Linked DNA regions of Homo sapiens: regions 1, 2, 3, 4, 5 and 7 are each linked to region 6. The links are contacts of gene promoters, found by promoter capture Hi-C in blood cells and fetal thymus (Javierre and others, 2016). All regions are on one chromosome and are shown on one strand. Each heading gives the region's core, a stretch centred on a gene start or on the middle of the fragment in contact. The rest is flanking DNA. Distances are from core to core; before and after follow the strand shown.

The links. Contacts are between HindIII fragments. The CHiCAGO score rates a contact against its expected background, and 5 or more counts as called.
Region 1: a fragment that was not itself captured here is called in contact with the fragment with the promoter of MAP3K1 in region 6 in 11 of 17 cell types (total B cells, naive B cells, neutrophils and 8 more); the score reaches 22.9 in total B cells.
Region 2: a contact is called between a fragment that was not itself captured here and the fragment with the promoter of MAP3K1 in region 6, in 9 of 17 cell types (total B cells, naive B cells, neutrophils and 6 more). The highest score is 25.3, in total B cells.
Region 3: a fragment that was not itself captured here is called in contact with the fragment with the promoter of MAP3K1 in region 6 in 4 of 17 cell types (total B cells, neutrophils, naive B cells and 1 more); the score reaches 14.5 in total B cells.
Region 4: a fragment that was not itself captured here is called in contact with the fragment with the promoter of MAP3K1 in region 6 in 4 of 17 cell types (total B cells, neutrophils, naive B cells and 1 more); the score reaches 15.8 in total B cells.
Region 5: a fragment that was not itself captured here is called in contact with the fragment with the promoter of MAP3K1 in region 6 in 15 of 17 cell types (total B cells, naive B cells, erythroblasts and 12 more); the score reaches 21.2 in total B cells.
Region 7: a contact is called between a fragment that was not itself captured here and the fragment with the promoter of MAP3K1 in region 6, in 5 of 17 cell types (total B cells, neutrophils, naive B cells and 2 more). The highest score is 11.5, in total B cells.

What each region holds. Positions count from the first base shown.
Region 1 is chr5:56,339,236-56,342,757 of GRCh38, forward strand. The region is part of intron 2 of LOC105378977 (a long non-coding RNA gene); the gene reads left to right. Among named protein-coding and RNA genes, the nearest start is that of ANKRD55, 110 kb to the left of the region's middle. The HindIII fragment of the contact is 893 bases long and covers 1,035-1,927 here.
Region 2 is chr5:56,418,855-56,422,569 of GRCh38, forward strand. No RefSeq gene overlaps it. Among named protein-coding and RNA genes, the nearest start is that of LINC01948, 61 kb to the right of the region's middle. The HindIII fragment of the contact is 1,299 bases long and covers 1,242-2,540 here.
Region 3 is chr5:56,383,830-56,387,538 of GRCh38, forward strand. No RefSeq gene overlaps it. Among named protein-coding and RNA genes, the nearest start is that of LINC01948, 96 kb to the right of the region's middle. The HindIII fragment of the contact is 3,095 bases long and covers 1-2,969 here.
Region 4 is chr5:56,361,297-56,364,513 of GRCh38, forward strand. No RefSeq gene overlaps it. Among named protein-coding and RNA genes, the nearest start is that of LINC01948, 120 kb to the right of the region's middle. The HindIII fragment of the contact is 2,721 bases long and covers 52-2,772 here.
Region 5 is chr5:56,302,375-56,305,951 of GRCh38, forward strand. The region is part of intron 2 of LOC105378977 (a long non-coding RNA gene); the gene reads left to right. Among named protein-coding and RNA genes, the nearest start is that of ANKRD55, 71 kb to the left of the region's middle. The HindIII fragment of the contact is 680 bases long and covers 1,704-2,383 here.
Region 6 is chr5:56,813,782-56,817,040 of GRCh38, forward strand. MAP3K1 (mitogen-activated protein kinase kinase kinase 1) reads left to right here and starts at 1,768. Exons shown (of 20, transcript NM_005921.2): 1 at 1,768-2,274. The coding sequence starts at 1,793. RefSeq lists enhancers at 996-1,125, 2,577-3,259 and silencers at 1,486-2,255, 2,326-2,445, 2,626-2,865. The HindIII fragment of the contact is 8,983 bases long and covers 1-3,259 here.
Region 7 is chr5:56,400,185-56,403,888 of GRCh38, forward strand. No RefSeq gene overlaps it. Among named protein-coding and RNA genes, the nearest start is that of LINC01948, 80 kb to the right of the region's middle. The HindIII fragment of the contact is 2,844 bases long and covers 541-3,384 here.

The DNA.
Region 1 (3,522 bases), core at 231-2,730, 470 kb before region 6:
CAATGAAATCATGATTTCGGATCTTATGTGTTTCATGAGCAGGAGAAAAGTACCACACTAAATAAATTTGGAAGAGTCATTTGTACGGAAAAATAAAGTTGTCTATGATTACTTCCCATAAGTTATGCAATCAACATGTTACATGTTATCCTCATCTCCCTCCACTCCTTAAATCCCTCTTCATTCAGTCATACCGAGTTTCTTACATTTCCTCAAACCAACCCCACTGTTTGGTTACTCCATACTTTTGAGCATACTGATCTCGCTGCCTGTAGCATCCTCCTTCCTTCTTCCACTTCTAGCTAACTAATTCCTATATAATCTTTCAATACATTGTCTCTTCAACATCACCTTCTCTGAGAACCATTCTTTTAACCTCCTCCTTTCCACCCATATTTAGATGCATACTCCTACATAACAAATCTTATCACACAATTGTTGATTTCACATGTGCCCCCACTGTTCTGTGTATCCTTGAGAGCCTGAAATAGGTCTTATGATGTTCTTGGTGCTTAGCACAATGTCTACAACACAGTAGGCATTCAGTAAATAACTACCAATGGTGACGGTGGGGGTTCGCAGGGAACAGATTAGGAACCAATTCTCAGGATTTTCCTGGGAAAGTCCCACATTTCTGGAGCAGAGTACGAGACTTCTGAAAGGTGTGAAGCAGCCTGTGAGTCAGAAGAAACATCACTGGGCTTGCAGAGAGCAGCAGAACGTGGAGCTACTCATAGACCATGTAGACATGGCACACTCAGGAGTGCCATCTTTGAATCCTGCAGGACTATAAGGAGCTCAGAGATGACCATCAATTTTTTTGAGGTTCTCTGGAAGTTGGGTGGCAGATGGAAAGAGCTAGTGCTTTGTAACCATTGCCAAAATTTTTGTTGACTTGAATCTGAGTGCATATGAGATGGAATGATGGAAAGCCAAAAGGATAAAGAAAATTTAAATAAATGTGTCAGGCACAATGCTTAGCACACTGCTTGACTTAGAGAGTTAAGAACTCTAAGAGTCCTAAAGAAACAATAAGCTTCTCAATAGAAATTTAACGTAAGGAAATCTGCTAACCTAGAACATGAGAAAGCAGACAAAGAAAAATGTGAAAATCCACACACACACACACACACACACAGTTTGTATCAGCATTTCATCACTGCCTGTCATGAGTAAGTGTTGCTTTCTTGACTGTTCCTCTAAGAATGACTCTCTTCTTAATGTTTATAATAAAATGTAGCAATAATAAAACATAATGAAAGATAAATGGGTGTATTTTTAAAAGTAATGATACAAAAGAGAGTTTATGGTGCATGGCAGGCCATTTTTCGTACTAAAAGGGGCCAAATTTATCCACATAAAACATGATCTTGTTCACTGCTTTTTCTGTGGAGTAAAAGCCATTTAAAATGTATTTCCTTCCCTTAACTCTTTCAGACTTCACCTCTTGTCTTTGTTCGACCCTGGATATTAACAATCAGCTTATTGTTGGTCTTACTGGAAGGTGAACCACTTCCCCCTGGGGAGATCCTACCTCATGGGAAGCTCACTGTGCTGTATTTTTTTAGGAAAAATCTCAGAGTCTTCATTTTGGGCCTTGACATGAAACAGAGAATAGTGTATTTAGGATCTGAAAGACCAGAAGCAGCAACCCTTAAGGGAGATTCTTTCAATGGTAATAGAACAGAAAGAGTCATAGAGCTGGACCTTAGTATTCTTTTCTGGGCCTTCCTTTCTTAGATTGATGCCTGGTGAGGAGGAATTATTATTTGTTTCCACACCACCAATTTTTCCCATTTCTACTCTCCCTTCTCCAGCTGACTACTGGAAGCTGAGCCATTTATTAGATTGGTGGGTTTTTTTTTTTTTTTTTTTTTTTGCTTATATCGATGATGAAGGAAGTTAGAACATACTTGCTACATACATAAGCTTAATAACAAAACTCATAATCATCACCAATTTTATCTTCATAAAAAAGAAACATTCTAATAGTCTCTCTCATTGAACATTTGCTGTGTCCTAGTGCTGTCGGAAGAATTTTATACACATCGCATTTAATACTCACCACAACTTTGTGAAATAGGTAACCTACCTTCCTTCCTTCCTTCCTTCCTTCCTTCCTTCCTTCCTTCCCATCTTTCTTTCTTTCTTTCTCTCTCTCTCTTTCTTTCTCTCTCTGTCTCTTTTTCTTTCTCTCTCTCTCTCTGTCTCTCTCTCTCTTTCTTTCTTTCTCTCTTTCTTTCTTCTCCAGCTTCTGTATCAAGAACAGGTGATACTGTTTTCAGTATGCACACAAAGGAAGTTGGGATATAGGAGGCCTGCACGACTTGCCCAAGGTCTCAGAGTGCAGAAGAGGCAGGGTGAGTACCAAAGCCCATGCTCTTCACCTCTGTGCTTACATTCACACTCAGCACCTTTCATTGTTGATGGCTTTGTACTTTGAGAACTTTTAGTGGTAGCATTTTTAACCCCAGATCTAATTTCTTGGCCACCCAGAAGCAAATAGGTGTCCAAAAACTTAAGGTTGTTCTAAGAAAGGTATAATTATGATGGTAAGCCTGTTTTTTTTTTTTTAAGTAAGCCATTCTTAAAAAAATGAGCCATTCTTGCCCTACCTACAAGTTACTTGTGGAGAGCTCACTCTCTGTAATTTTAATTCTACATTTTCTGTTCCTCAGAGTTGCTTTTTAGAAAAGTCTTTATTTGGAAGTACTAAATTGAAGGGGAAAAAGTCAATGTGCTTTTAAAGGTAGATTGTCCAGATTGATTTTTAAATTTTATTCTAGTTCTATTTTTGAACATCATTTAGTAACAAAATATTAGTTGTATCCTTGATAATAGAGAATAAATTATAAGTCCTATACTCCCTGAAATAGACCTCACTGATAAAAAGTCAATTCGAGCCCATTTACAAGAACATAAAAAAGTATATATTTAACAAAAGTGTACAATACTTGTATACTGAAAACAATAAAATATTGTTCAGTCAAAATAAAAAAAGACCTAAATCAATAGAGGGATATATTATATTTATGGATTAGAAGATTCAATATTGTAAATATGCCAATTAGTCCATAACAGAGGTCAAAAACCTATGGCCCATGGACCAAATGGAGCCCACTGCCTGCTTTTGTAAATAAAGTTTTATTGGAACACAGCCATACCCTAAAACATGATCTTGTTCACTGCTTTTTCTGTGGAGTAAAAGCTATTTAAAATGTATTTCCTTCCCTTAACTTACATATTACCTACGGCTGCTTTTGCTCTCAAAACCTAAAATATTTATGATCTGACTCTTAAATGAAAAAGTTTGTGAATTCCAGATCTGTGCATTAACATAGTCTCAGTCAAAATCCTTATGACTTTTTTTTTGTGTAGAAACTGACAAGCTGATTCTAAATTTGCACAGAAATGCAAAGAACCTAGAATAGTTGACAGTCTTGAAAAAGAACAATCTTCGAGAACTAATACTGTCATTTTTAAACTTAAGCTGGGCTGCTTAGGGCCCTGTCATCCAGTGGT
Region 2 (3,715 bases), core at 641-3,140, 390 kb before region 6:
CTATTTATTTCTCCCCATCAGAAATCTATAATTTTCTATTTTTCAATTGTCATATCTATGAAAACATCCTTAGCAGGTAACCTAAGACTTAGAGGTTGAAAATGTGAGATTAATATTGGCAGAAAATGTTAGAAGACAACTTTGGCTACCTGGAACCCAGACTTTTTTTTCTGTGAGATCTTGGAAAAGTCACTGATATGGTTTAGCTCTGTGTCCCCACCCAAATCTCATGTTGAATTGTGATTCTTGGCATTGGAGGTGGGGCCTGGTGAGAGGTGATTGGATCATGGGGGCGGTGTCCAATGGTTTAGCACCATTGCCCTAGTGCTGAGATACAGCTCTCATGAGATCTGGTTGTTTGAAAGTGTGTAGCACCTCCCCTGTCATTCTGTCTCCTGTTGGCCATGTGAAGATGTACTTGTTTCCTCTTTGCCTTCACCATGATTGTAAGTTTCCTGAGGCCTCTCAAGAAGCAGAAGCCTGTACAGCCTGTGGAGTCATGAGCCGATTAAACCTTTTTTTTTTTTAATAAATTGCCCAGTCTCAGGTAGTTCTTTATAGCAGTGTGAGAATAGACTTACACAGTCACCTAGCCTCGCTGAACCTCAGTTTTCTAACTTCATTAGAAATCCTTTTAGATTGGCCCGCTTATCTCTTTATACAGATGCTGTAGGAATAGAATTAGCAGGATAAAATACCTAGAAAAATTAAGAGACTTATTCAAATGTATGCTATTTTATTTAAGTACTAGTTTATTTTTCCTTTCTTGACCCCAACTCAGCTCTGAGTAGAAAAAGTGACCAGGAATGTCAAAAAATTCAGCTCCAGATCTAAGAGGAGTCTAAGTAAGTTCAAGCAGCAGGTCTAAAAGAAATAAACCACTCACCCCCTGCTTCCTATTCTCTTTTCTGTTTGATTTTCATAAGCATCTTTGTGGATGGGTTAACCTTAAGTGTGTGCTGTGGTAAAAATGTTGTGATAATATCATGTTCTGTGTTCTCTTGTCCTGCCAACATGAGAATCAGAAGGAGGAAGTGCAGATGAGCTGGAAGAGTGAGCTGCATCAGTAAATATGAGCTGAGCTATTCAGAATTTTGACAGGCCCCAATAATTTCTGAAACTGTGCACGCACATGCACACACACACACACCCCTACGATGACCTTCTACCTATGTGCCAGACACTTTTCTAAGAATTGATGTTACACAATGATGAAAAATACATATTCCCTGCTTTCAAGAAGCTTGCATTCTAATGAGTGAAGAATAAAATAGTGAATTCATAACATAAATTAAATTCAAATAATTATATGTGCTATGAAAAAAATCCAAAATAATTAAATAGAGAGTAAAAGGGAGGTGAGAATGGGGCTGGAGTTGACAAGTAGAGAGGTAAGAGTCAGACAAGAGAAGGTGACATTTGAACTGAAATCTGAGTATCCAGAGGCACCAGCCAGGGAAATATCTAAAAGAAGAGCTGAAAGATGAGTTGGAATGAATTCACTGAGGAAAGTATGCAGGAAAATGAGGTTGCAGAGGTAAACCACAGCCAAATCAAAAGCAACTTTTAGTCTATGATCTTGGAATTTATTCTAAGTAGCATAGGAAACTCTTAGGAGAGTCTGATCTTTGATTTGTGGATTAATGTCTTTCATTAACCTTGGATTAAATCTTAGCCATTATCTCTATAAATGTTTCTTCTGCCTTATTCCTTCCTGTTCTTTAACACCAGTTTCCTGTATATCAGACCATCTAACAGTGTCTCACATCTAAAACATTCTATTGTTTTTCTTCATTCATTTTCTCTTTATGGTTTAGTTTAAATAATTTCTATTGAACTGCCTTCAAATTTACTGATCTTTTCTTCAGGATCAGTAAAGGTTGTGTTCAGTATTGTAGTTAAACACATTGAATGAATTTTCCATTTCTAATATTGTAGTTTTCAGCTCTATAATTTCCCCTCAATCCTTTTAGAGAGCTTCCATTTTTATGCTAAAGTTCCCTGTCTGGCACAAACTAATTTCCTAAAATATTTTTGTTGAATGAATAAATTGGTTTTGCTGCTCTGTCAGGAAAAAGGATTTTTTAAAATACAGAAAAATGTTCACATCTGTACTGAAAAATTTAGTGTCATAAATTAGTGATCTTCCACTAAGACTCAATAACTCATGGTACAACCAGGTGATAGCCATTTCATTTGAATGTTTTGCAAATTTAACCTTATTTTGGAGACAGCTAATGTAATAAGGCACTCTCATATTACTAGTATTCTTATACTTGGTCAGTTCCTTCTGGAAGCTCATAGTAGGACTAGACCCACAGGCATATAAACATCAAGGCACTTTGCTCAATAGTGCAGAACTATAGCAACCATAATAAATGTCTCCTTTTGTGAATGATTTAAATAAAGCCAGAATGCCTTTGGGTTAGTTTTTATCCCTGGAAAAAGACAAATCATTCCACTGGCAACATATAGAATATGTTCCTTGGAATAAATGACATATGACTTAAATTTCTTCTCTCTAGAGGATAGTTTTGGCAAGCTTCTCTATGTGCAAATGTGAAAGATACAGTTTTCACCTGGAGTAGAAAGTCCCGGAAGTCTGTCCTGCAGAGCAATCACTAGAGTGCTAGGAATCCCAGAATTTAACAAGTAAAATTCAAAAGAAAAGTAAAAGTGAAAAGGAGAAGTCTCAAGTAATCCATTAAATGTTTCTGGAGCAGACAAAACAAAATAACAAGGCAAGGCTGTGGAGTTGCATAACAAGAAAAACATAAATGCATATTTTCCAGAAAGCACTGGCCTCTCACATAAGTTTAAAGAGACTGATGCCTCTGGCGAGGGGATTATACTAGAGTTGCAATCACCTTTATGTTTTATTAGTGCTTATTATTACCATGGTGAACACAATGCTATCTGCTTCCCTGAGTGTGTTTGAAGTATAGGAAAAATCCAAAGATTTTTATAAAGTGAGGGATGGTGATACAGTACAACTCCTACGTGCACATACATATGGACGTACACAGAGAGAGACTCAAAAGAGTTGCATTTTAATTTCTCAGCAGAAGGAAACTTAGATTCTTTCATATCCATCTGTAGTTTCTAGACATTATATGGAGAGACAGAAATCTGAATTTGGCCAGTGGCGAGGGCTGCCCAGGGTTTAATTAGATCAGCACGCAGACTGGGATATGCTGACCTTTTTTGTCCATGCTAAGCCTATAGGCTGTATTTCTGAATGCCTCCCTCTCTGCAAACTGTAACAGGAGCTTTCATTTTAAAGTGCTTTCCAAACTTTATTCCTTATTGCCCTTGAGGAGAGGCCCTTATTAGTCTCTCTATTTTGCTGACTGGAATGAACTGACCTGCTTAAGGTCCAGTGGGAATTAGTGCCCAAACTGGAATTACCACTTTGGTACCTTTGGACCAAGTCCCAGGAACTGGCTGTTAAGGACAGGGCTATTGTGGTTCTTTCTCCTCCTGCTCTGTCTCTGCAGAGTTAACCCACTCCAAGGAATCGTTTTTGTCCGTCTGTGAGCTTTGGTTTTGATTTCTGCTAACTGGATATAACCATATTTATGGTATTTTCTGATCTTGTCAAGTGTATTTGTGCTATTTATGATGTTGACAAAGGTTCACTTTTGATTAACGTTAAGGAACTACTCTGTGCCAGGATCTATATACGTCCTCAGACTTACAAAAGTTAGACAGCTGG
Region 3 (3,709 bases), core at 172-2,671, 430 kb before region 6:
GGCTCTGGTCGCCTCAGACACTATGAAACCCAAAGGCTGGAATGGCTAAGTCACCCAAACAGCAAAGCTAGCACCCCCACCCCCGCGGCCCCGCCCCGCTCTCTCTGGGCGTACCATGTTGGGGGAATTTAGATCTCTGTCCGTGGAGAGCTTGAGCCGGGCAACTGGAGGTCCCAGTTGGAAGGTCCTACCCAGTGAGGAGGAATGGGATCGGGCACCTACTTAAATCAGCAGCCTGGCCACGTTTTGGTAGAGCAGCTGTGCTGTGCTGGGGGATCCCTTCCACCCTGGATTGGCTCAGACTCTCCAAAGCCTGAAAGCTGGAATGACTAACGCATCCGAACAGCAAAGATGTCACCCCCTTGCCGAGCTTCTTTTTATGGGGCTGCAATGCAGCTATTGGTAGCTGGCTGGAATTCCAAGCCAGTGGGTCTTATCTTGTGAGATGCTGTGGAAGTGGGATCTTCGGGCTGTTGCTGCTCAGCTCCCGGGATTCAGGCTCTTTCCTAGAAATATGTGTGGGAGTCTAACCTCCCACTTTGCCAGAGCTGCAGCTGCTTTTGCTGGAAAGCGGAAGTATCTAAGGCTCCAGGGTCTGCGCGCAAGCCTGAGCTCTGCCGAAACTCCACCTAGCTCTGTCCCTCTGACTCAAGACTGAAGGCCCTGTTGGGTTCACAAGGAGATCTCCTGACCCAAGAGTTGCGAAGATCTGTAGGAGAAACGTGGTTTTCCGGGGTCGCACATTTGCTCACCGCTTCCCTAGGTGGGGGAGGCTCCCCTGGCTTTGTGTCATTCCTGGGTGGGCCACTGTCCTGTCTTGCTTGTAAATACTGTTTTAACAGAGCATTCATACTGGGAAAACATGGAGTTAATAAGATTAAAACCAGGCTATGATAGGGATAAGGCTTTCAATGTCTAGACATTTCTCATGATGCTTCTACAAAAAACCACCACAAAAGAAAAAAAACCCAGCTATTAAAATGCTAAAAATTTCAAGATTAATAAAAATTTTAAGAGATGAAATAAACAAAAAAGAAAAATCAAAAACAAAATAAAAGATACTAAGAAAATAATGAAAATAAAGAAAAAGGTTTGCATCAAGCAACCTCAGATAGGATTCTTTTTTTTTCTTTTATTATACTCTAAGTTTTAGGGTACATGTGCACAACGTGCAGGTTAGTTACATATGTATACACGTGATGAGTATTCTTTAGTTAAGTGGAGAGAGGAAAGAATTTTGTCTGAAACCACGAAATGAGTCTAAGTGAGAAAAAAGACTGGACAGCCAAATCTCACTGGCTCCATACTACCTGAACTGTCTTCTGGAGCATTCCTTTTATTTATCTGCTGGAAACTTATGGGAAACATTATCTTACAGAACATTTTTTAAATATCCAAGATTTTAGAGACTGCTTGCTAAGATAAACCCTGATTTAGAATCCATGTGAGAAAATCCTTGAGGAACATAAGGAGCGATTGCCTGAGGGATTCTCTTGCATCTTTATCCAAAGGACTCAAAAAATCAAATTCAAAATCCATCTCTATTATCTTCACCTCTAATTAATATTGGAGTATCTAGATTGCTATTTACTTCTCTCACAGACCCCTGGCAAATAATACATCACCCTAATTTCATAGAAACTACCCCACAGTTGAATTCCTCACCCATCTGATGTCTCAGCATTAGGATGTGAAGACTGAAAAAATGGAAGAATACGGATCAAAAAAAAAAAAAAATCATTCTACTTACCCTAAGGCCAGTGTTTTAGTATTGCAGGGAGGTTCTATCATCCTTTAGTGCTCTTCTCTTGAGTGTTGTTGTTGCTGTTATTCTTTTCTTTCTCTTTCTTTTCTCCTTCTCTTCCTCCTCCTCTTCTTCCTCCTGCTTCCCTTTCCTCTTTCTCCTTCTCCTTCCTCCTGCCCCCTCCTCTTCCTCCTCTCCCATTCCCCCTCTCTCCTCCTCCTCTTTCTTATTCTTCTTCTAACCTTTCTATTTAGTTTACCCCAAAATCATTCCAGTCCTAAGGACAGTTAAAGATATCTTGTTCCCATGGAGAAAGGAAGAATAAAATATGTAATATCAGGGATATAACCTAATTTTACAAACAGAGTTAAAAGAATTACAGCTTGTGACATAATTTTTAAAACAACATATGTTCCCTCTGTAGTGATTACCCTTCACCAGACGATCTTTGGTTATTCAGGGAATTATAATAACATTAAATCAATTTTCAAATATCATTGAGGCAGTTTGCTATTTGCCAGTTGAATTTCCTCATCTACGTGGTTTCTGGGAGCTCCAGCAGTACAATCAGTTGGTGAGTGGTACTTTCACAAGGTTTCTTGGTCTTATTGGAGTTATCAGCCTGCAACCTTCAGGAATCAAGGCCTCTTTGCTGGGCGTTAACCAGAAGTCTGGGTGGCAAATTGTGTGGCTCTGGGGTTTGTTGATGCTGGTTTGCATGAACAAGTTGTGTTAGCTCTAAGCCCAGTTGATGGTTTTGGTTATGCAATTACTTGAGCCCTGGTTTCTTCATCAATCAAGCAAGCCTCAAATTTCCTCCTCTTTCTCAGTTTTGTGATTTTTGACATTAGCAGAATTTAAAATACAGGATGGTTGCTAAGCAGTTTCATAAATGGAAACCACATTTGTCAAATGAGCTCCACACCAGGAAATTCAGCGAGAGGATTCCTGGGTATCCTCAGTCCTAGCCTGCCTAGCATCTCACGTGAATTGGAGTCTGTAATGTCCTCCCAGAGGGAACTGGATCTAGCCAGTAGGCACAAACATTCTTTTGGTCTTTCCAAAAATTTTCTGCAGAAAATGCCTATGGGACAACTCACTGTGAAGTTGAAATTATATGCAAGTGTGTATACAATTAAATTTCAAAATAAATGCCTTAGAATTGTGTGTGTTTGTTTTTTGCTAATTTGATGGTAAACATGAAAGCCCAAAGTGTCCTGGGAAAAGCTTTGTATTTTTCTTTAAGCCACAAATAGTCTAATTAGACTTGAAAGAATGCACTTCCAAAGCAAAATAAGACAAAATAGAACGTTCAAAGAGCCACATACCATAGTTTCAGAGATAACTAGAAATTGGGTCTATAAAGATAGCAATGCATTGCTATTGAGTTTGTCTCGCCCACTGTCTTCCACACTCCAGGCGGGAGGGCTACAGCAGCGTCTTATCGTCCTTGAATTTGTTGAATGAATGGCAGTGTCCAAAAGTGCGGAAAACCCCAGGCACAGAATGATACTAAGGGGATCTAAAGAGTTTCTTGGATGAAAATACTGGTGCTACTTGGGAAGATTTGAGAATATGATGGCTCTGAAAATGTACAATTGCTCTGCAATCTTACAGAATTTTTAGAGTCAACTTCTATAAAGAGGGGACAAAACTATTTATAATAAGCACAGTTGAAAAAATACTGTGAAGCAGGAAAGATGGCCTTAGATGTTGTCACCTCCTATTTCTGGGAATTCCTCACCATTCACGGTCCTCAAGATCACTCTACCCCCTTCCATGTCAAAGCCTGGTTTTAGGAAGGGATCTGGTAAATTCATCCTCCTGAGTTTCAGTAACTGCAACAGTTTACTGCAGTAATACATTAAGTCATATTTCAATTGACAGAAAAGGCTTAATATACTGTATTAGTTATTCTGTTTACTTTTAAATAAACATCAACACGTTAACCCAAGGTGGCATATT
Region 4 (3,217 bases), core at 162-2,661, 450 kb before region 6:
TAACTTTTATTTTAGGTTTGATGGTACATGTGAAGGTTTGTAATGTAAATAAGCTTGTGTCATGGGGGTTTGTTGTACAGATTATTTTATCACCCAGCTACAAAGGCTAGTACCCAATAGTTATTTTTTCTGCCCCTCTCCTTCCTCCCATCCTCCACCCTCAAGTAGGTCCCAGTGTCTGTTGTTTCCTTCTTTGTGTCCATGAGTTCTCATTATTCAGCAACTACTTACAAGTGAGAACATGCGGTATTTGGTTTTCTGTTCCTGCATTAGTTGATAAGGATAATGGCTTCCAGCTCCATCCAGGTTCCCACAAAAGACATTATCTCATTTTTTTATGATTGCATAATATTCCATGGTGTATATGTACCACAGTCTTTAAATCCAATCTGTCATTGATGAGCATTTAGGTTGATTCCATGTCTTCACTATTGTGAATAGAGCTGCAATGAACATACAAGTGCATGCGTCTTTATGGTTGAATGACTTATATTCCTCTGGGTATATACCCAGTAATGGGATTGCTGGGTTGAAAGGTAGTTCTGTTTTCAGCTCTTTGAGGAATTGCTACATTGCTTTCCACGATGACTGAACTAATTTACACTCCCCCCAACAGTGTTCTTTTGGGTTCTTTTTTCTCCACAACCTGGCCAGCATCTGTTATTTTTGGACTATTTATTTACTTATTCATTTTTGAGACAGAGTTTTATTCTTGTTTCTCAGGATGGAGTGCATTGGCGCAGTCTTGGCTCACTGCAACCTCTGCCTCCTGGGCTCAAGCAATTCTCCTGCCTCAGCCTACCAAGTAGCTGGGATTACAGGTGCCCACCACCATGCCTGGCTATTTTTTTTTTGTATTTTTAGTAGAGATGGGGTTTCACCATGTTGGCCAGGCTGGTCTTGAACTCCTGACCTCAGGTGATCCGCCTGAGGTGCTCGGCCTCCCAAAGTGCTGGGATTACAGGCGGGAGCCACTGTGCCCGGCCATTTTTTGACTCTTTAATAGCCATTCTGACTGGTGTGAGATGATATCTCATTGTGGTTTTGATTTGCATTTCTCTAATGATCAGTGATATTGAGCTTTTTTTAAATATGATATTTGGTCACATGTATGTCTTTATTTTGTTAACTTTCATGTTTATTTATTTTTTTTTGAGGCAGAGTTTCATTCTGTCACCCACACTGGGGTGCAGTGGTGGGATCTTGGCTCTCTGCAACCTCTGCCTCCTGGGTTCAAGGGATTTTTGTGCCTCAGGCTCCTGGGGAGCCGAGACTACAGGCGTGTACCATCACACCTGGATAATTTTTGTATTTTTAGTAAAGATGGGGTTTCATCATGTTGGCCAGGCTGGTCTTGAACTCCTGACCTCAAGTGATCTCCCTGCCTCAGCCTCCCAAACTGCTGGGATTACAGGTGTGAGTCACGGCACCCAGCCCGTCTTCTTTAGAAAAGTGTCTGTTCATGTCCTTTGCCCACTTTTTAATGTTTTTTTTGTTTGTTTTTCTCTTGCAAATTTGTTTAAGTTCCTTATAGATGTTGGATATTAGACCTTTGTCTGATACATAGTTTGCAAAAATTTTCTCTGCTCTGTAGGTTTTCTGTTTACTCTGTTGATAGTTTATTTTGCTATGCAGAAGCTCTTAAGTTAATTAGATGCCATTTGTCAATTTTTGCTTTTGTTGTGATTGATTTTGGCATCTTCATCATGAAATCTTTGCCTGTTCCCATGTCCAAGATGGTATTGCCTAGATTGTCTTCTAGGGTTTTTATAGTTTTGGGTTTTACATTCAAGTCTTTAATCCATCTTCAGTTGACTTTTTTATATGGTATAAGGAAGGGGTCCAGTTTCATTATTCTGCATGTGGCTAGCCAGTTATCCCAGCACCATTTGTTGAATAAGGAGTCCTTCCCCACACTGCTTATTATCTGTGCTATTTCTAGAATTATTTGCAATTAATGGATTCAGAAACTGAGGCTCAGTGTGTGTGTGTGATTTGCCCAAGTTTCCCTCTCTACCATTTTCACTCTATACCTGCGGTTCTCAAGGAAAGACGATTTTGCCCCCCAGGGGAAGTTTGGGACTATCTGGAGACATTCTTGGTTGTCTCAACTAAAAGGTGCTGTTGGCACCTATGTTGGGTAGAGGCCATGGTACTGCTAAACATCCTAGAATGTACAAGACAGCACCCCCCTCCTCCCTGCACACACACAAAGAATCATCCATCCCCAAGTGTCAACAGCACCAAGGTTAAGAAATCCTGCTCTATATATTCTCACTTTAAAGTTTCTCTTTGATTTCAACTACTATCTTTATGCTGGCAACCTTTAAATCTATATTTGCTATTTCCAAAGCTCCATGGTCTTGTTGCTAACTGCCTAACAGAGACTTCTACCTGATTTTCATTTGGGAATGTTAAACACAATAAATTAAAAAGTAATATTCTGAACCTCCTATATTCTGATCTTGATCACTGCCCCTACCATCTAGGTTTTCTCAAGTGAGAAACATGATTGCAATGTGATATGGTTTTGTTATGTCCCCACCCAGATCTCACTCTGAATTGTAATAATACCCGTGTGTCAAGGGCCAGGCCAGCTGGAGATAACTGAATCATGGGGGCAGTTTCCCCCATACTGTTATCATGGTAGTGAATAAGTCTCATGAGATCTCATGGTTTTATAAATTGGAGCTCCCCTGCACAAACTCTGTCATTTCTGCTGCCTTGTAAAATGTCCCTTTGCTCTTCCTTCATCCTCTGTCATGATTGTGAAGCTTCCCTAGCCATGTGAGTCCATTAAACCTCTTTCTTTATAAATTACCCAGTCTCTGGTATGCCTTTATTAGCAGCATGAGAATGGACTAATACACCACGCTTGATCTTTTCCTTGCTGTTCTCTTCCTCACTTTCCCCAATCCAATCATGTGACATATCTTTCAAATACATCTGAGAGACATCTCTAGCCATTGGTCTCCACTGACACTCTTAGCACTGGTCCTCATCATCTCTCAGGACAAACTCTAGCAAACCATGCCTGGAACTCTTCTTGGCAAACCATGCCTGGAACTCTTCTTAGCACCCATGAGGTATTATCATCCTCATTTTAGAGATGAAGAATGAAGGTACACAGAGATTAAGTGATGGAGTTGATAAAGGAGCTAGGCTTTGAACACAGGCCAGACTCTTGTCTACTGACCATTACACTCAGGTACCTCTT
Region 5 (3,577 bases), core at 794-3,293, 510 kb before region 6:
TGTTGAATAAATAAATATAATTCTTTCAAAGTCATCTGAACTTGGAGATCAGAATCACCCAGCACAATCACTTGCTTCAAGATTATATATTACTTCTGAAATAGACACGAGTTATACAGAAACTGGGAGACAGAACAGAGATGGAAATAGTGGTGGTACGGCCCAAGGAAGTACCCACTGCAGCTGGGCATGGCCACATTTTATAGGCCCTCATTAAGTTCCATCATGTGAGGGTCCGCTCACTTCTTCAAATACTCAGATTCTCATCATTGGCAGTGGCTGGTGATCAGGTGGTAAGTTATCCATGCCAATAAAAATAAACATTAGTTTGCATGAGATTTAAGAATGTCAAACAATTAATCTGCATGAAATCTATAGCCGTCACATGGACAGGAAAGCTCCTCTTGGCCTGTTCCAGAAAATTTTCTCCCTGTAAAAATCTTCATGGTAACCCAAGTTGTAATCGGAAGTCATCTCTCTGATTTATCAGGAGACATCCCCATCTTGGGGACCAGAACTCTTGAAAGTCCCTGCAAGTAGTACATTCCCTCACTCCCCTTCCCAAGGCAGACTTACATGGAAGGCAAAACTAAAATGAGAAGGATGCTTTGTGTGCATGGAATCAAGATGAGGAGATTTAGATATATGTGTATAATAGCATCAGGATGAGATGGCTGGATGTATCCATCCTGCCATCAGGATGGTCTGGAAAAAGGGAGAAATTGGAGCCTAGCAGCTAAAGCTCCATGTCCCTGAACACCTGAACAGTCTCAGCCAATATTCACCCTCCCATTTTCTAGATCTTGATGATGATGGTTCATGCTATCTTTACATTTTCTATGCTTTTAATCAAGTTATAATCAACAGTGCTTCCCGGGTAACATGCTGTCTTTTTAAAGTGATTTGTATATTCTTATTACAGCCTAATATAAACTGCTCTCGCTGTTTAATGTGTAGAAAGCAATATCATTTCACTCTTTCTAAGTTCTTAGTAGGCATCTCATGGTCACCCTCAAGTACTACTATAGTGTAGACCAGTGGTCCCCAACCTTTTTGGCACCAGGGACCAGTTTCATGGAAGATAATGTTTCCATGGAAAGGGTGGGCAAGGAATGGTTTTGGGATGAAACTCTTCCACCTCAGATCATCAGGCATTAGTTAGATTCTCATAAGGAGCACACAACCTAGATCTCTCGCATGCGTAGTTCACAGTAGGGTTTGCGCTCCTATGAGAATTGAATGCTGCAGCTGATCTGACAAGAGGCAGAGCTCAGTGGTAATGCTCACTCCCCCACTGCTCACCTCCTACTGTGCAGCCTGGTTCCAATACTGGTCCAAGGCCTGGGAGATGGAGACCCCTGGTGTAGACAATAAGGTATAGTCTTAGTTCTACTTAGTGCCATTAATGGTTGCAGTGGAGTAGAGCATCATAGCTCCCAGCTTGTGTGCTTCCGTAGGACTGGGTAACAGGCGTGTCCAAGTAATTGATCCTCTCAACCCTTGGGGAACACAGGCAGGTCCTAGATGGCTGGAACCTTTAGGTCATTCCTGCCCCACAGTGATGTCTCACAATATGAAAAAAGCTGAGAATCCCTAGGATAGTGGAATGGACCTGGAAATCAGCATACCACTATGTATGTGTGGGCACCCTTTTGCAGGTCATTGTACTCTCAGAAGCTCAGTATCTAAGCCAGGTGGGCCAAAGCTTATTTCATGCTGAATCAACAAAGTTACATCCACCTGGGCTTAAAATGAGCTTATGAGGGGAGGCAGTGCCAGGCCTGCAAGTGGAATCCAAATGGTCCCAGGTGTGGAACTAACTGCTGGACTGCAGATGCAGAGAACCAAGTGGGTCATAGCATGAACAGAAATCAGACCCTTCTCCTTTCCTCTTGGTGCTCATATTTGTCAGACTTGGGAGGCTCTGAGAGGAGAGTGGCTGGTAGCAATGTTTAAAGAGGGCAAAAACAATGAGCTGGTCATTCACTTACCCAGTGGAAAGCCCAGGGAGGAACTCAACACATTTGGGAAGCAGTGACCAGAGTAACTTAGACTACATCTCAAATTATAGCCAATAAAGTGATTGTCATTTTTCTCGCAGAAAATGTACATATTCTCTGAGCTCTAGATTTTTTGACTGTGCCATTATTTCTGATATCCCAACAATTCTTTAACATCAGGGGACCTTTTACATATACTCTATAGAGCTAACAACATTTTCTATTACTAAATGGAAATGTTGTCCAGTATTTGTCTCCACTTTCTCTGGTAAGATATTCTGCCTCCTACCTGTGGACATTTAGCTACATTCCTGGTCATTAATTGTATAGTGAATATCTTGGCTGGCGAAATTTCTTAGTCCTTTTTTCTCTTGCTGTCAGAAAGCTTTCTGGAAAGTTTTATTTTGATATCACTGTATTAGTTTGCTGGGGCTGCCCTAACAAAATACTATACACTGGGTAGCTTAAAAGACAGGACTTTATTTTCTCATGACTCTGGAGGCTAGAAGTCTGAGATCAAGGTGTTGGCAGGTTTGGTTTCTCCTGAGTCTCCTCTCGTGGCTTGTGGATGGGTGGCTTCTCCCTCTGCCTTCACATGATCGTCTCTCTGTTTTCTAATCTCCTCTTCTTGTGGGGACACCGGTTGTATTGGATTAAGGCCCACCATATTTACCTCATTTTAATTTAATACCTCTGTAAAGGCCCTGTGTCCAAATACAGTCACATTCTGAGGCCCTGGGGGTGGGGGCTTCAACATACGAATTTTGAGAGGCCTGCAGTTCAGCAATAACAGTCACTAATAGCACTGAAATGAATCTGTGGCTGGCTCAGTCCTTCAGGGCAAAAAAGGATGTAGCAGATATCTGTTTTTAATTACACTAATAGCTCACAGGATTTTAGAACAGAACATGTCTTTGGAAAAGTCATCTCATCATATGCTGTTATTTGGCAGATTAAGAAACTGAAGCCCAGAGATGTTATGTGACATCCCTAAACATATACAACTGGCATCTGATGATGACCTGAGGGTGAGGCATATGGTCAGAACTTCAGCAGAAGCAAACTACTCTACTTACATATTCTTATATATAAAGCCAAGATAAAACCATGATTGTCTTTTTGTGGCCAGGAAATGTACTCATGGAAGAAAGCCTACTTATCGTCCTGCAAATTGGTAATTTTTCCGTGGTGACTTCTCTCCTTGAATCCTGGAGTTCCCACCTGGAATGTTCCTGGCTGCCTCTCTAGCAGTGATGTGGCTGTCTGCTGAGGTGGCCTCTGCCTGTGCCAGGGCCAGCAGCAGCTTCCTGATCCTGGCTTCCTGGTCCCAGTATGGCAGCCACAGCTGCCTCCTCATACTTTCAAAGCTGATGATAAAATCACAGAATCAGGAATCCAGCTGCCACCACTGCTCTGACACATTTTCATGACCTGCTTGTCCACAGATGTAGCAGCAGGGAGATAGCTGCTGTCTTACTGCTGTGGTTTAGGTCTTGCCTAAGTGCATCCAGAACCCTAGATCCAAGAGAGTCTGGGAAATGCAGATTTTAGCTTTCCAGACTGCAGTACAGAAAAGT
Region 6 (3,259 bases), core at 518-3,017:
GGTGGGTGTGGCAACCCAGGAAGACCTGAGAAATAACCACTGTTTGGTTTGAATGATACATTTGACTGCCATTAAAATAGCATATAATTATAGCCTAAATGTAGACTTAATTTTTAACAGATTTATCTGAACTTTCAAAATTTGTACCGTTGGGTGTAACGATCTAAAACTATCTTATGGGAGATGTTACAGCAGTTTTCAAATCATTGAGCTAATATGAAATCTGGACTTTTTAAAACCCCTCTGATCTAACCTGGTTACGCAGTTAACATTGTATCTGGGAAAGGGGCTTTCATTTTACCTAGTCTCCAGAAGTCAATGGAATTATTCTGTAAATAGTTCAGGCTTTTGTCTAAATATGTGAAGACTGACAAGACTATCTCCGTGAGAATCCGCACCCCCCCACCCCAACCTCCCCCCTCCTTAATCATGTTTCACAAAGTAAATCTATAGACGTTCCTCCTGGGTTTTGGGAGATTCCCCATCCTAAACAAACCAGCTGGAGGAAAGGAAAGGAAGGAAGAAATAAACGCAACACAGAAGTTCTCCTCAGTTGACAAAAGGTCAAAAATCATTAACGTGTAAATGTTGCTTTTTCCATCCCAAAGCACCTTCTCACGTAGAGTCCAGGGACTAGGAGGACTCACAACGCAGCGATGGGCAGCCAGGCCCTGCAGGAGTGGGGACAGAGGGAACCCGGCCGGTGGCCCGACCCTGCAGGGAAGAAGGACGTGCGGCGAGAAGCATCGGATTCGGGGAGGGCCGGGACCTGGCCGAGGGTGACATTACCGAGCACTTCCTGGCACAGCGCTGGTCCCCTCCCCAAACGCGCTATATGTGGTTCTGTACGGGACTGCCTTTCCCAAAGACAGCCAAGGAAAAACTAAAGATCGACGGGGACACCCGCCTCCCTTCCTCGCCCCAACGGTTTCTCAGAGGCTGTGGGGACTTGGTGAGGGTAGGGGGTAGTTGTCCCAAATCAGCAGCTTCAGGATGTAAGGTATTACAGAAAACTTTGAAGTTTTGTTATCTGTAGCACAGGGACAGGGGTGGGACAATAGAGAAGGAATGTTTTCTTTTCAAAAGAAAACACAAACAAAACTTTATTTTTCTGGTCCGCGGCAGCCTGTCTGCTGAACGTTGACTTGCTTTCGCTTTGCAGCAGGCGACGGTCCCGGGCGCCACCTGCGCGTCGGTGGGAGGCTGGTCCACGCCCGGGTCCCCCGACGCCCACTGCAAAGGGCAGTGGGAATGACAGACTGTAAACCCTCTCGCCTGCGTCCCCTTCAAGCACCAGAAACCCAAGTTGGAACTAATTCTTTCTTTCGGAAGGTGCAACTCCCCTCCCGCGAGCTCCGCGGTGCCGGGCCGAGATTGCCGAGAGGAAGCGGCGCAGCGCTGCCGCCAAGGCTCCTCCTGTCGCCGGTGCGGCCGGGACTACCTGGCGGCGCGGCGCGTGCAGCGCGCAGAGTCCCGGGAGCCCACGCCTCCGCCTCCGCCCCCGCCCCCTCCGCCTCCCAGTCCACCTCGCCCGCCCGCCCTCTCGCCCGGCGGAGAGCACAGCCCACTCCCTCCCACCTGCGGCCGCCGGGCCGCCCTCCACCCACACCTCTGCCGCAGGCCGGACCCAGTGCGCCCGCCCGTCGGTCAGTCCAGGCCAGGCGCCCGGCGGGCCGCGCTCACGCAGTTGGCGCAGGAGGCCTTACGCTGGCGGCGCAGTGCCCGCCCCCTGCGCTCTCCCCGCCCCCTCCCTCCCTCGCAGGGGCCGAGCGAATGTAGCCCGCGAGAGAAAATGGCGGCGGCGGCGGGGAATCGCGCCTCGTCGTCGGGATTCCCGGGCGCCAGGGCTACGAGCCCTGAGGCAGGCGGCGGCGGAGGAGCCCTCAAGGCGAGCAGCGCGCCCGCGGCTGCCGCGGGACTGCTGCGGGAGGCGGGCAGCGGGGGCCGCGAGCGGGCGGACTGGCGGCGGCGGCAGCTGCGCAAAGTGCGGAGTGTGGAGCTGGACCAGCTGCCTGAGCAGCCGCTCTTCCTTGCCGCCTCACCGCCGGCCTCCTCGACTTCCCCGTCGCCGGAGCCCGCGGACGCAGCGGGGAGTGGGACCGGCTTCCAGCCTGTGGCGGTGCCGCCGCCCCACGGAGCCGCGAGCCGCGGCGGCGCCCACCTTACCGAGTCGGTGGCGGCGCCGGACAGCGGCGCCTCGAGTCCCGCAGCGGCCGAGCCCGGGGAGAAGCGGGCGCCCGCCGCCGAGCCGTCTCCTGCAGCGGCCCCCGCCGGGTGAGCAGCACGGCCGGGGTCGCGGCGGGGACTTGGAGAGCGGGCAGAGGGCAATGAATGAACCCCGGGCACCATGCACGGCGTCCCGGGGTTCAGCGCAGCGAGGCTACGCGCCGCTCGCCGGGACCTACGCCCCTGAGCACCCCCCGACCCCTTCGGAGTCGGGCGGCGCCCCGGACCCAGCCTGGGGGACCGGACGGGGACGTGCGGAAGAGTTTGTTATTGTTTGCAGACATGTGACAGGCGTGCGAGCCTCTCTGCGGGGAACCGTTGCGAAAAGGTGTAGGGGGCCACGGCTGGCTTTGTGGGACTCCTGGAATCGGGGCTCTCCGAGGAGCCCGGGGGCGGGGCACGGCCCTGCGGCGGCGCCCCCGGACGGGTGTCCCCGGGGCAAAGGCACTGGGGGGCGAGGCCCGAGCCTGAGGCGGGCGGTGGTCGGAAGAGGGGCGGGGTGGGTGAGAAGCCCGAGGTCGGGTGGGAGACTGAGAGGACCGAAGAGAAAGTAGCAGGTCCCAGCGGCCGTGACAGGCAGAGCCCCTCGGCCCGCCCGGGACTCGAGTCCCTAGGCAGATACCGCGGGCTGGGCCCGGACGCAGGCGGCGCGCCCCCAGCGCCGGCCGCAGGGCTCCAGGAGGACGGCTCGGTAACGCCTGTCAAAGCCGTGCGGCGGGAGGCTGCACACTCGCGGAGGCTTGCAGTCTTTTAGGAAGTGCGGTTTGTCTAATTGCAGCCCCCAAGGGGCTTTGAGTGTTCCTGGGAATGCGAACTGCACTGCTAAGTCACTTGAGTGACTTCTGTTTGGAGTTTGAATTTGGCCTTTGAAGTTTGCATTTGGCGGAGTGGTGTAAGAGCCAGGACCGGATGTGTCAGCCATTCAGTTTCAAAGCAGTGGTGACTGCTCCCCGCAGCCCCTCCGGCTTGGCCCGGGGACTGCGGCGCGGGTGCAGTGCTTCCTGCTCGGTGCCCTGGCGCGGGCCGCCCGCTG
Region 7 (3,704 bases), core at 713-3,212, 410 kb before region 6:
AATTCAAAGGTAAACCAAAAAGATCTGATTCTTCAGCCAATCCCCACCCAACTCAACTACTGACAAAGTCAAGCAGTCAGCAGCTTGAGATGATGGAACGCAGGTGAATTCACTATAATATGAGCTTTTCAGCTCTTGATTTGTATCTAGTGCATCTTGACAATGAAGGGGGATTATGTCATCTGGTCTTAAGATCAAGTCATTAATTTAGCATAGAACAGAAGAGAGGAGGGATGGTGAGTTTCAATAATCATTGCCAAAGAACAAGCAAAAATGAAATTTATTCAATTCCTGCTGCTATCCCAGATTGTCTCTACCTGTTCATTGGCAAACAGCATTCTGTCCAATCATCCACTTTTAAAACAAAGAACATGGTAGTGCCATTCTTATCAGTTTTCAGCTTTGCATAGGCCAAGAGGAATCCTTAGAAACTTAGGCTGCAAGAAAGGGCAACTGGGATCTCTGACCCACCCATATCAAATTGCAACTTGACATAACCAGAGCTTCTAGGGCAGAATAATTATAAATAGTTCATCCACAAGCTTGAGCAAAAGCAGCTCCACTTTTGCCTTCCTTTGTGGGTCATTTTGAGGCAGTTCAGTCTTGCTCACAGATCAGTTCTTCTAGATGGCCAACAAAATAATTCAGGAGGCAATGGTGGGCAAATATTTCAATGAATTGCACCCAAGAACTAGGATTTGGCAACTCACACGTCCATAGAAGATCAAAGAAAGAGGACATACAGTTTTCCTCATTCACCTTGATCTACATAAGAGTCAGAACATCATTCCAAAAAGTCCGTGACAGAGTAGTCAAATTCGTAGAGCCAGAAAGCAGAGTGGTGTGTGCCAGGGACTGAGGAAGCCCCCTTTCAGCCCATGAGAGAAACATACAAGTCTGTAAATATTCAGGTCTGCCTTGGAGGGGAAAAGGAGGATAAGGGGATTTAAGCAATCCAAGTAACAATAATAAAACTAAATATGACATTAACATGAAAAGTCTGTACGAGGCATTGTACCAAGCAATGTCTGTACCAGGCATTTTATCTGTAGTTTGTTCAACCCAGGACTGAGCAGACACCTACTGTTCTGATTTTAGGAAGAATTCTTATGTAATACCTGAAGTCTTTGCCAATGAGCCCGATTACCCTGCTTTAGGGTTCACAGATGCATATTGGTGATGGAGAGTCTGCTGGTTGTGAAACAGATATTAATGCCCTTGTAGCTCAATTTTTAAAATGTGTGAACTATACAGGTCCTTTTTAAGAAATAAAATTTTCTCCTATTACTGAGAGTAAATCCACAGGCCCTTATTTGAGAAACACTGACTTAAAATATTGAAGACTTCCTCCATGAAAGTCATGCAATAGCAAATCACCACTGCAGAATAGAAATGTTGTCTAAGTGATAAAAATAAAATTATCATCATAACAAAAATACTAAATTAAAAATTTTTTAATTTTCTTACAGTTCATGGAGCCCCCTCCCCTTCCAAAAATATGCCCAGAGATCTCTGTTTGAGAATTACTTCTCTTAGAAAGTTTTGGGAGCCTCTGACAGCCATGGTTGATGGGGGCGGCGGGAAGCAGGAAAAAAATTAAATGTTTTGGTGGTGGCGGTTCTAAATAAAAAACATTTTAAATTACTTCGTGAAATGGGAAGTAAGGCTAGGAAATAAATATATGTACATATAGAGGGAGAAATAATGTTTAAGTACTTTATTTTCAGTAGATATTAGGTGGCTTGATTGAGTACATCCAGCTATTTTGGAAAATGGCAGCTAGTGAAAATATTTTTCAGCAACAAGACTTGGGGTGTTTGTCTCCATTTCAGCACCCCCTTTCTTCTCAAGCAATTTGATTTGGGGTGACTTGTTTAGGAGATTTAGACAACGCTTTCATGTGAATATTTATATGGGCAGATTTTGTTTTCCCCTTGGGCTGTACGGCTGCCAGCCATTTATTGCCTGCTTGGTACAGGGGCAGGTTTTTTGTTTTGCTTTTTTCCCTTTCCCCTCTGTGGTTCCTACAATAGAAATAATCATTTTTTAAAATGGAAAGGAACCCACTCCCTTTTCATAATCTCAGCTACAGATCTGCTTTTGATTCTGCATGCTTCATTTTGTTCCCTGAAGGATAATTTGGAGATTTGAGTAATTAACCCAAGACTCATAGGAGGCAGTCTTTCGGAGGCTGGTAATTTTGCTGTGGTGGAGTCGGCTGCTGTCAAGCATTAACTTCTTAATAATGAAGCCTTTCAGACCCTCTGCTATTGGCACAATGATGCACTTGAAGCTAGTGGCTTGGCGGAGTGTAAGCGGGCCACTTCTATTCTTTCCTTGGACAAAATAGTCCTCTTGATCTCTGGGTTGGAGCTATTTTTAGTTTAGTTCAGTTCTTTTTTGCTTTTTAACTTGGTGGGCAAGTCTTTCACTTATATTTTGATCCACTGCTTAATCTGTTGCCTTTTTTCAAAAAGACCTGCAAAAAGGCACCCTTCCCAATATCCAGCAGCTAGTCCCCCCTTTCAGTATATTTAGAATCCTCTTTTTAGAAAAGCTGTGACTCAACTCCTGCACTAAATGGGACCTTGCTTCTCTGATCCCAGTACACTTCCTGCTATTAACATGGTAATGTCTGTGGTGCAGCACTGGGGACAATCACACCTGCAATTAAAAACCAAATTAGGATGTATCTTTTCTTGGCAAACAGGATCCACAGAAATTCGAAGACAGCTGCTGCCCCTCCCCTCCCATTCCCACTCATCTTTTAATTCCCTCTTTCGAGCTTTGAGCAGGGAAAAGAACTAGAAATTTCTGGTTGTTATTTGATGAGTCAGTATTTTAACTGATTCGGCAAATACTGAGTGCTTACCATGGAACAGACTTTTTATCAACTTGAGATAAGCAGAGCCATTTTATCAACTTGTCATTGTGAGCTCTGTGACTAGGACCTATGTGCTTTGAAAAGGATTATGAAAATACAAGACCTAATGTATTTGTATTATAATATATATAGCAATTATACACATACATATATAACAATCCCATAAACACAAAATTAATCAATGGTTAATGTCGACCAGCAGCATTCTATCAACTTAATTAATTATAGACCTTAAAACAAAATCCCAGTACATTTGCAAGCAGTTTATAGGTAGATTTTCCAAAGATTTCCAAATATTCTCCTTATAAACTAAATTAGTTTTTTCATAATCAAATAATTTCAAAAAACATGTTTTATTTAAAATTTCTAAAAATTCTTTTCGTGCCAGAAATTACTGTTCATGTGAGATGTATATTGTCAAAATGCTTCATTTGAGAAGAGCCTCTGAAGGCTTTAAAGTAGCGCAGTGAGAGCAGATGGGGGGAGTTCATGGAGGTAGAAGCTTACGATTCTGTGTGGACAAGGCTACATATAATGCTAGGACCCTACTTAAGAAGATACAAAGGATGTGTCTTAGCGACCTGCTGCATTCCTGTTAATACTCAGCTATTAATACAAAGCACACATTGTTCCCAGGTAGGTCTTACTATTATCTGTGCCATTGATGCCCCTTGGAATATTTGAAGACAATTCTCATGTCAACTCAAAAGTTCTGTCTTGGCCAGGTGCGGTGGCTCAAGCCTGTAATCCCAGCACTTTGGGAGGCCAAGGCTGGCTGATCACCTGAGGTCAGGAGTTGGAGACCAGACTGGCCAACATG